Linked DNA regions of Homo sapiens: regions 1 and 2 are each linked to region 3. The links are contacts of gene promoters, found by promoter capture Hi-C in human tissues and cell types (Jung and others, 2019). All regions are on one chromosome and are shown on one strand. The core of a region is centred on a gene start or on the middle of the fragment in contact, and the rest is flanking DNA. Distances in the headings are between cores, read along the strand shown. Region 1 overlaps ABLIM1 (actin binding LIM protein 1). Region 2 overlaps AFAP1L2 (actin filament associated protein 1 like 2). Region 3 holds the start of AFAP1L2 (actin filament associated protein 1 like 2).

Region 1 (3,688 bases), core at 804-3,303, 52 kb before region 3:
TTTTTTGTTTTGAGGCAGAATCTCACTTTGTTGCCCCAGCTGGAGTGCAGTGGTGCAATTTCGGCTCACTGCAATCTCCACCTCCCGGGTTCAAGCAATTCTCCTGCCATAGCCTCCTGAGTAGCTGGGATTACAGATGCCTGCCACCAACACCTGGCTAATTTCTGTATTTTTAGAAGAGACAGGGTTTCACCATGTTGGCCAGGCTGGTCTCAAACTCCTGACCTCAAATAATTCACCCGCCTCAGCCTCCCAAAGTGCTGGGATTTCAGGCATAAGCCATCATGCCCATGCCCGGCCTATTATTTTTAAACAGTATCTTATTCAGGGTTGATAGATGATGACAACGATGATGATGAAAATAATGATATCTTCCAAATATGATATTTCATCTGGTGTGTCACACATTACTTTGTTTAAGTAAGGAACTATGCACAGATGGCCTCTTAGGGCCCCCATAAGTTATTTCCTGCCAGGGTTGGGTTCAAAGTTATATCATTTAAATAGGGTATTGGCCAGGTGCAGTATCTCACGCCTGTAATCCCAGCATTTTGGGAGGCCAAGGCGCCACAGATCACTTGAGGTCAGGAGTTTGAGATCAGCCTGGCCAACATGATGAAACCCCGTCTCTACTAAAAACACAAAAACTAGCTGGATGTGGTGGCGCATGTCTGTAATCCCAGCTACTTGGGAGGCTGAGGCAGGAGAATCGCTTGAACCTGGGAGGCGGAGGTTACAATGAGCCGAGACTGCACCACTGCACTACAGCCTGGGCAACAGAGCAAGACTCTGTCTCAAAAAAAAATAAAAATAAAAATAAATACAGATAAGGTGTTTAATTTAGAAAAGGGAAAGAGGCCTCTTCCTGAGAATTTTCCTTTTTCTTTTAAAAATGCCCAAAATTTGTCATGCCTTTGGTATTTCAAGGGCTAAGAATTTGGTACCTAGCAACATTATGTATTCCAAGAACTTATTCCCCGATGAGCGGTTGTGATATGTGAAAAGCACATTCTGCAGAATTGCTGAGATGGGTGTGTTATTGGGTCTCTCTTTACCTGATTTTTAAAAATGCTTTGTGGGAAGTTTTAAATGATTATAGTTACATCTGCTTACAAAATTTGAACAAAGTAGTGTTTTTTTTTTTTTTTTAAAAAAAAAACAACTAGAGAGGTGAATGTTTGCTGAAGACATCCAGCCTAATATAGAACCACACCCAACTGGTGACAGCATTCAGCCAGAATCCAGTCCTTGGGAATTCAGACAGCTACTCCATAACCTTTGAGAGGCTTTGACCATATTCAAGAAGTGAGGGGCTTCTACAGGCACTGGCCAACACAGGGTCTTGTTGATAGAAATATTTTAATCCCTGGACAAATGTCTAATTCTAATAACCTTAAAGTTTGTGTCCTGCATATGCAGATATTTTTGTGTGTGCGTGACACTGGCTAATAATGATAAAAACTGATTTAATGGGGGTTCATTTGATTGTGTATTATAACCAAAACCTACGAGAACTTTCCTGGAAACATCTGATTTTCTGCAAGGACAGTGGAGGTCTATGTGAAAGAACAAAAGCATGGGGCAGGGGGGTTCAGAAGCAGTAGTAAAAGTTGAGACCCATTATACCTTCTTTCGAGAAAAGACCGTAAGAATGATTCTGTTTTTCAGTTATGGATTACTCTTGTTAATTTCTAATGTTCATAGGATTAAATCATTTTTCTTCAGTGAAACATTTATATTGGAGTTGTCAAAGATTAGCTGTAATGGGAAACTTATAAAAGGGGTGTTGTTGTGAGCCCAGTGCTGTACACAGGTCTTTACTTATCATCATCATTTACTTGGAAACTGTGACTTAAGTGAATTGAAATATTAAAAAAACTAGTTTTTCCCCTCATCAGTGTTCTAGGTTGAAATAAACGACGTTCTTCAAGGACCTGCTATATGTTGTTTTGCTTAAAGTTGCAGTTTCCAGCCGGGTGCGGTGGCTCACGCCTGTAATCCTAGCACTTTGGGAGGCCGAGGCGGGTGGATCACGAGGTCAGGAGATTGAGACCATCCTGGCTAACATGGTGAAACCCCGTCTCTACTAAAAAAATTCAAAAAATTAGCCGGGCGCGGTGGCGGGCGCCTGTAGTCCCAGCTACTCAGGAGGGTGAGGCGGGAGAATGGCGTGAACCCAGGAGGCGGAGCTTGCAGTGAGCCAAGATCGCGCCACTGCACTCCAGCCTGGGCGACAGAGCGAGACTCCGTCTCAAAAAAAAAAAAAAAAAAGTTGCAGTTTCCTGTAACCTGTTGATATTAAGTGAGGACTTATTGCACTAGCATCTGGCTTCCTTTAATTTAGAGAAAATTGATGGTGAATCTTGCCATGGTGCTTGCTAAATTAGGCCAATAAATAGCTGTGGAGGTAATTAATTGGCCTCCTTCAATCATTCATTCACAGACATTTATTAAGCACTTACTCCTGGCCAGGCGATACCCTGAGCACTGATGATGACAAATGAGACCAAGTTTTAATTCAGCAACAGGTTTAAAACACTATTTCCTTCTAAATGCAAATTATAATCTTCCTTCCCCTGTTTTCCTCTGTGTTTTTTATACTCATTTTTTCCCGATAGGAACTAGTTACTTCTCTTTAGGAGAGGGATAAATGAGATAACATTTTTATAAATTAGCTTTTTAATAGATCAATAGTTTGGGATGATATTTCATAATTTTTAGGAACTAATATATGACTTAAATAATAAAGTCAACATTATAACATATTTGGGTCTGGATGCTAAACCAGCTCTTGAGAAGAAAAGACAAAAGTTTCAGAACACCAATAACCAAAAGCCAGAAATCTAAATTTGACTCAGTAATAGACACAGATCCCATATTTGGAATATCTTACTGCCCATTTAGTGTAGATCTGTACTCTGGTTACTTAAAAATGTACATGCTGAGACATTAAAATTCTCTTAAATGTATATTCAAACGGTAACAATTGACATCTTTCACACTTGACTGGATAGATTTAGAAAAATTTGACCTGAAGCAACTGGCCAGACCTCTATTTTCTGATGATCTATGATTTATTTAAAATTATTAGTGTTAATAGATAAATAAATTGGACTTTATCAAAAATTTTAAACTTTTGTGCTTCAAAGAATTCCACCAAAAAAGTGAAAAGACAACCTACAGACTGGGAGAAAATATTTGCAAGTTCATATTATTTCTGACAAGAGACTTGTATCCAGAATATATAAAGAGCTCTTACAACTCAGCAGTAAAAGTCATTACCCCTACTAATTTATTGAGCTTTAATAGTCCTGCATCTTCTGGTGTCTTCTTGAGACAAGATGTTTGCCCAGACATAGGGTAGGAGGACAATTTAGGCCAGTTACAAATCTCTTTCTAATTTTGCACAAGCTGAATTAGTTTATCTTGGCCATTCTCCTGGTCAGAAGGGAGTGATGGTGGCTATGGTGGCACTTAAAGCTTTTGCAGCCACCCCTTTGCTCTCTTTTCTGCCCTGGTCCCTCTTCTCTCCTCCAAGAGCACCATGCCTTCCAGACAAGGTGGCCAGTCCTGTTGCTCCTCCAGTCTGCACCCTTCCACACCCTCCTTTCTCATGACATTCCAGCTGTCTGGAATATGGGCTTCCCACCCTCCCATTCACCTACCCTCTCACCTGGTGAGCTTACTC
Region 2 (3,709 bases), core at 536-3,035, 48 kb after region 3:
AATGACTCTGGTTTTTATGATCATTATTATTATTATTGTTATTGTTATTTGTCATTGAAAGAAGAAAATGTAAGGGAGGCCAGCTGAGGTGATGGTGGAAGGAGTTAGAGTGATTTGAATTCAGATCTGGATTTTCTGGCTGTGTGACTTTGGCCAAGTTATTTAACCTCCCTGAGTCTGTTTCTTCATCTAAGGGATGATGAGATATACCATGTAGTTTTATTATGAGTCTGAGTTCAGTGAGATATCCTTTGTCATCATTTGGCTGACTTTATTATTAATAAAAGCAATTTCCCTTGTTTGGGTTGTAGACTTATTTTTCTTTGACTGCTTTATTATTGATAGCATTTTGTGTTATTTCCTTAACTGTAATTCTATCTTCCTAGTTTATTTCAATAGAAAATTACCCATCATAAAACCTATTAATCCTTGTTGCCGAATTTAGAGGTCATTGAATTTTTGCTTTACTTTATGCCAAATTATATTCAGAACAACAGAAAACAAAAGAGAGGCTTGTTTATTCCTAGGTTTTTCTAATTCAACTTCACTTTGAAGTGAGCAACTCCCGAACCACACTGGGATTCAGAGCTAGGATTGTTCTGGGGAGGCTGAACTCTCAGACATGATGCTTATACTGTAGGAATCTGGTTTGAGATTTGAGACAGACACAATTTTAGCATTGAAGGCCCTTAAAAACACTTAGAAAGTGTGTATTGTCAAAAGAAACTTAACACACTGCAAATAAGCCCCTGTGAGGGAATGGAAAATAACCGTGGTTGGAAGGACAGGAGCTGATTGACTAATGGTTGATTCTAAAATGTCACTGATTCTAAGAAACATTTCCTTTTAGTAGCACCCTATTTGAGGGACACAGCTACATTAATGCAAACAGAATTGCAACATGCATTCTTCTTTTATTATTTCAAGGAATACATGTAAATTAGAAATGGGGAAATTGGAATTTGCATGTTTATCTTCCCCACTGCATTGCTTAGCAAGACCCAGGCAGAGAGAGAGAGCCGATACTCACTACTGCTTTCAATGGAATATTGGATATTCCATATTGCATATCCAACATGGAATATTGGCTATGCAGTCACTACCTGGGAAATGTTGTTGTGGGTAGACAAGGGTACTGTGAGATTGGGACAGGGAGGGGCTGAAATGCTGACCACACCTTGGGGCCTTGTTAAAGCCTGGCTTCAAGGTCAAGGGGATAACAGTTCAGAGTGAGTATGAGTGTGTGTGGGTGTTGCATTAGAGAATGTGGTTACACCAGAGAAAGAGTAGCTAAAGAAATTTAAGGGTGTTTGAAGTTGGAGGCCACAGTGTTGGAGAAATTATAGCAAGGAGCATAGGCAGGGCAGGGAGGTGAGGATCCGAGGCGTCCTTTTGAGACTGGCCAGAAAGGGAAGAGAGGATTTGATTAAAGAGCCAAATGCAAACTATTCCCCAAATGAAATGCTCTGGAAGAGTCTGAAATTGTACATCAGCAGTTTCTTTTGACAAATTTTGGCTGAAACATTAAAGAAAAACAATGGTCCAACTCAAAACTCTGTGATACCTTTAGCTTGTTTATATAATGGGGCTTCAAGGGTTTAATTTAGAATATTTCTGTGATGAATAACTGGCTCTTGTTCATGTAAACAAAGTACAGCCTGCACGGAGTAACCACATTTTTTTCATCCAGGGCACAGCTGTTTTCCTGAGGAGAGAACTTTCCTTTTTTAGAGCCTTCTCACCTTGGTAAATCATGACCAACACATGTAAAAGCCCTTTTCCAAGCTTTACTCACTGCTCCCATGGAATTCTCATTCAAGAATAACCTTTCTTCTTTCCTTTGCTCTCTAGGATACAAAACTACTCGAAATTGGGTTTAGAAAGCCTTGGGCAGGAATAGGAAATTTGGGTTTTCTGTGCAACTTGGATGAAGTCCCTTTCTCTCTCTGAACATTGTTTTGTTTTGTTTTAATCAGAGGGATGACTTTTAAAAATGCTCTGATGTTTTAGATCAGTACTATCCAATAGAAATAAAATTTAAAACACATATGTAATTTTAATGACACTTAAATTTAAATTACATTTAACATTTTTAAACATGAAAAATAGATGAAGTTAATTTTAAGAATAGACTATTTAACTCAACACATCCAAAATATCATCATTTCAACATGTCATCAATATTTTAAAAATGTTTATTTTACATTCTTTTTGTTTGTTTGGCGGGGGAAACCGAAGTTTCTTGGAAACCAGAAGTTTTTTGGAAAGCAGGCACAAACTAATTTGGAGATAAAAACGGCCCTGAAATGATGTGAGGCGACTCATTATCTGTTTATCCCACTTACTATAAATAATTGTGTATTTTATTATAGAAATATTAATGTACTTTATTCCTGAGTATTTCCCCAGACTCTGCTGGGGGAATATGCACCATGTTACTGTTCCAAAATACACTGAATTTCAAAATATCTCTGGCTTTGGGAGTTTCAGATAAATGTTTTTCAAACTTTTTGATTGTGACCATAGTAAGAAATGTATTTTATATACATGGTAAGAAATGTATTTTATATTGTTCCCCAGGGTGTGCACACACACCTATGCACACACTGATGCACACACACATACACCTGAAACAATCTTTTTTGAGACAGGGTCTCACTCTATTACCCAGGCTAGAGTGCAGTGGCGCAATTACTGCTCACTGCAGCCTCGACCTCCTGGGCTCAGATTCTCCTCCTACCTCAGCCTCCCTGGTAGCTGAAACCACAGGCATGTGCCACCATGCCTGGCTAGTTTTTTGTATTTTTTGTAGAGATAGGGTTTTTGCATGTTGCGCAGGCTGGTCTCAAGCTCCTGGGCTCAAGTGATCCAACCACCTTGGTCCCCCAAAGTGCTGGGGTTACAGGTATGAGCCACTGTGCCCGGACCCGACAGAAATTTTTTGATAGAGTATGTGCCTTTATTAGATGGTATGCATTCAAATATTTTCTACTACATGTATTGCAAAGACTTTATTTTTAGAGCAGTTTTAAGTTCACAGCAAAACTCAGCAAAACTTTTTTTTTTTTTAAGCTACCAGTGCTAATGCACTGAATTGACAGCACAGCCCACCTAAAAGACTATGCCCATAGTTTCCAAAGCACTGCTGTGGGCCCTGTACTGGGGACCATGGAGAGTCGCACAGGGATGTGAGCATCAGTCAGAAAAAAGAGAGAGGAGAGCCGGGCGTGGTGGCTCACGCCTATAATCACAGCAGTTTGTGTGAATCCGGGAGGCGGAGCTTGCAGTGAGCCAAGATCGTGCCACTGCACTCCAGCCTGGGCAACAGAGTGAGACTCCGTCTCAAAAAAAAAAAAAAAAGAGAGAGCGAGAAGAGAAAGGCTTCTGTGGGGGAGGCAACCTCCCCCCACCCGCATCCATCCCTAGGCCTGCTATACTCCACTGTGGTTTAAATAGCACCGATTACAGCCATACCCCTCGGTGTTTGTTGGCCATCATCAGCACTTTTCTAGTTGTTTGGCCATGGTTTATCCAGGATAATTACCTGGTCCTGTCGATTTTGTGCTTGGACTTTTCAAAGGGAGCAAGAAAGTTAGATTCTATGGGGCCATTGTATGACCTTGAAAAATTGGGGTATGCCTTATATAGGGAATGGTTTATATGGAGCCACCATTTGTTCAACCTTCACTTCTATATTTAGAAAGGCTTT
Region 3 (3,220 bases), core at 256-2,755:
CAGTGCGCAATCTCAGCTCACTGCAACCTCCATCTCCCAAGTTCAAACGATTCTCCTGCCTCAGCCTCCCAAGTAGCTGAGTTTACAGGCCCCTGCCACCAAGCCCAGCTATTTTTTTTTTTTTTTAGTAGAGATGGAGTTTCACCATGTTGGCCAGGCTCGTCTCGAACTCCTGACTTCGTGATCCGCCCGCCTCAGCCTCCCAAAGTGCTGAGATTACAGGCGTGAGCCACCGCGCCCAGCCGTAGCTTCTTCACCTCTATGAAAGAGATCATAATAATACCCATGTCACAGGGATATCGGGGAAACTAAAGGCAGTGATGTACAGCCCTTAGCGCCGTGCCTGGCTTGTGGGGAGGGCTCCATCCACATTAGGTGCTAGTATAACTAAGAAAAATATTTCTACATGCTGTTGGGAGGGGTTGGGGGAGGTCTCCAAACATCACAACTAAATCTGCGATTCCAAGGAAGAATTAAGAAGTCTTTTAGAAAACCACCACTGCCAAATCTTCCTTAATTGTTCCTTCAAGGAAGCTGGGGAACTTAGGTAACCAACCAGGCACCCAGCACAAACCGTGACTGAGATTTTAAAGTGAAAACTGAAAAAGTTTAAAAGAACACATAGATCTCTGGGGGGAGCACGGAGAAGACTAGGTCGCATTAAGGGCCTGGAAGGACCGGTGGCAAAAGGCAAAGGATGGAAGTGTGGCACTTCTGGATGGAGGCAGTGCAGGGTGGAGATTCAGAGCCATGGCCGAGCTTCCTTATGGAACCGGCGCCACCCCTCCAAGGCGGTCAGGTTTACTGGGCGCCCCGGAAACGGCACTCCCTGACTTGTGGCGTTGGCCCTGGAAATTCAGGTAGAAAGCAGCAAGCAGATGTTTTCACACACCCTGAAGTGTGCGCGATTGGCAGCGGCTGCCCAGAGAGGTTCCAAGAGAGTGGGAGCAATCCCCAAAGAACCCGGAGCAGGTTTGGTTGCCCGCCCCGCTGCCCTCCTCGCCCCTCCAGGAAGGCCTAGGGCAAAAGCGCGCTGGCTCGGGAGCCAAGCGCGAGGAGCTCTAAGCCAGTCTCAACCTCCTAGCTTGGACCTCGGTCTCCTCCTCCAGGCATTGGGTTTGCAGCGGGCAGGGGTGTGGGAACAATCTTGGAGGCCCACCCAAGCCCGGCCTCCCGGAGCCTCCCCCAGAGTTTGGGAACGTCCCAGTCTCGTTCCCTCTCGACGCCCCCGGAGTCAAGACGTGAAGGGAGTGCCAAGGCGGCCGGGGGCGGCGAGCGGGGCCGCGGGCGCGCACCGACTCAAGAGCCGACTGTCAGCCTCGGCGGGCCGGAGTTCTCCGGCGCTGGGACAGGGGCGCTGGGACAGGGGCGCTGGGGGCGAGCCCTGGCGGGGGCCAGGTCCGAGGACCCTGGGCGCGGCGGCCCCGCCAGGAGGTCCGGCCGCGAGCGTGACCTCACGGGGAGGGGCCAGCGCGGCGGCCTGGGCGCTGAGCCGAGCGCCGGGAGAGCAGCGCAGAAGCCGAGCCGCGAGGAGCGCACTCCGTGGCCCCGATGGAGCGGTACAAAGGTGAGGGCGCGGGTTCCTCGCGCGGCGCACACCCACTCCCTTTCGCCCAGCGACGCGGAGGGCAGGGCTAGGACTCGTCTTGCCAGGACTCGGGATAAGCAGAGCCCACTGCCCCCACCCAGCCCGGACCTGGGCCTAAGAGGGGGCGACAGCGGCGCCGCGGACTGGGCGGGTGGGCTCCTAGGTGGCTGCTGCGGCCCGAGCCCTTTGATCCTCCCGGGCGCGGAAGGAGGGGGTCGTCAGTGGGGGGCGTGGCGGGGCTTCTCACCTGTTGCAGGAGAGAGGGTGAGCCCGGCACCCCACTCCACCCTCAGTCCCGCCGCACAGGAAAGATGCCTGGGGCCGAGGAAGCCCCGAAGAAGGTGGGAACCGTGCTGAGCTGCTGGGGGCAAAGGGTCGGGCTGTTGAGTCCTTTCTCCCGGGCGCCCGCCGGGCTAGGGGCTTCCTGCTCCCGGCAAAGCGCTTGGGCAGTGGAGTGGGCGCGCAGACCCTCCCCGGGCTAGGTGGGGCCTCCCCAAACGTCCTGCCGTTCGGGTCATCGTTTCTCTCCAAGCCCTTCTTTGCTCCCCCACACCAAGAAAGGAGGGATGCGAGGGTCGGGGGCCGAATGGAGTGCCCGGCAGGTGGAGCTCCTGGAGGCGTCCGGACCCGAGGGCTTAGCTCAGTGCGCAGCTGGGCGAGCTTTGGGTTTGGCGGGGGCCAGGATCTCCGCCAAACCCCGGTGGGCGGGCCGTCCCGGGTGCGCCGGACGCCCAGCTTAGCACCCACACTCGGAGCCTCGGAGCTGGTCTACAAGTCTCGATTGCGGTTCTTTTGAAAAGGGAGTACAGGGAGTTGCCCCTTAAGAGGAACCCTGCGGGCGCTCCCCCCTCCCCCATCCTCCTGCAGACCCCTTCCCTTTGGAAAAGCCTCTTGCCTTCTCTTTTGCTGGACCGGTCTCCGCCAAACCTGCGGGAGGAAATGCTGCTTCTATATTTGTTTTCCCCTGGGAGAGAGTAATAAAAAGAGAACGCTCAGATTCCCAGGAATCTCACTCCCGGAGGGCTCTGATCCCTGAAACTGACATAAAGGGACCTGTTGGGACCGGCTTCCCTAAAGTAGTCTTGTCTTTCACTTTCCCATTGCTTTTTCTCATCTGGGTAGCCTGGTTACTGGTGAAGGCAAAAGATCCAAGTCCCAGACAGAGCTTCATATATTCAGGAAGGGTCTTTGCCGACAGCAGGGAGCCGGCGTGGGGGACAGGGTTAAAGGAGTTGGCCACCTTTGATTTCTTTCTGTGAACCCTCCCTGGAGCTTCTCTCGCATTTCTAACCCGGTGGTTTTCTTCTTCTCAAATTCTACTGGGATCACGTCAGTTTTGTGCTTGAATGACTGAATGCGCGCTTATGCTGTCTCAGACACTTGAGGAAGCCACAGTCCTGCTCCTTGTAACATGGCCGTTTGCACTCCCTCCCCTACTGGGGCCCCTCCGCCCTTCGGGAGGGACCCTCTCTGGGAATTCAGGCCTTGAGTTGAGCCTGACAGGAAGTGTTGGCCTCTGGGGTGCCTTCCAGCTCCCTGACTTGCAAAGCTGGGGTGTGTGTATGGGGGTGGGGGTGGTGTTAGTTGTAGGTTGCAAGCTACTTTCTCAAATCAGCATATTAATCTCTCTAA

Evidence for each region. Contacts are between HindIII fragments. The study calls those that stand out against the background at their distance.
Region 1: a fragment that was not itself captured here is called in contact with the fragment with the promoter of AFAP1L2 in region 3 in 1 of the 25 tissues and cell types used here (spleen).
Region 2: a fragment that was not itself captured here is called in contact with the fragment with the promoter of AFAP1L2 in region 3 in 2 of the 25 tissues and cell types used here (hippocampus and mesenchymal stem cells).

The regions. Positions count from the first base shown.
Region 1 is chr10:114,454,396-114,458,083 of GRCh38, reverse strand. All of the region lies in intron 12 of ABLIM1 (actin binding LIM protein 1), which reads left to right. Among named protein-coding and RNA genes, the nearest start is that of AFAP1L2, 52 kb to the right of the region's middle. The HindIII fragment of the contact is 4,648 bases long and covers 1-3,688 here.
Region 2 is chr10:114,354,908-114,358,616 of GRCh38, reverse strand. All of the region lies in intron 1 of AFAP1L2 (actin filament associated protein 1 like 2), which reads left to right. Among named protein-coding and RNA genes, the nearest start is that of AFAP1L2, 48 kb to the left of the region's middle. The HindIII fragment of the contact is 6,713 bases long and covers 1-3,709 here.
Region 3 is chr10:114,402,787-114,406,006 of GRCh38, reverse strand. AFAP1L2 (actin filament associated protein 1 like 2) reads left to right here and starts at 1,505. Exons shown (of 19, transcript NM_001001936.3): 1 at 1,505-1,567. The coding sequence starts at 1,552. RefSeq lists an enhancer at 970-1,470 and silencers at 1,424-1,503, 2,301-2,350. The HindIII fragment of the contact is 21,033 bases long and covers 1-3,220 here.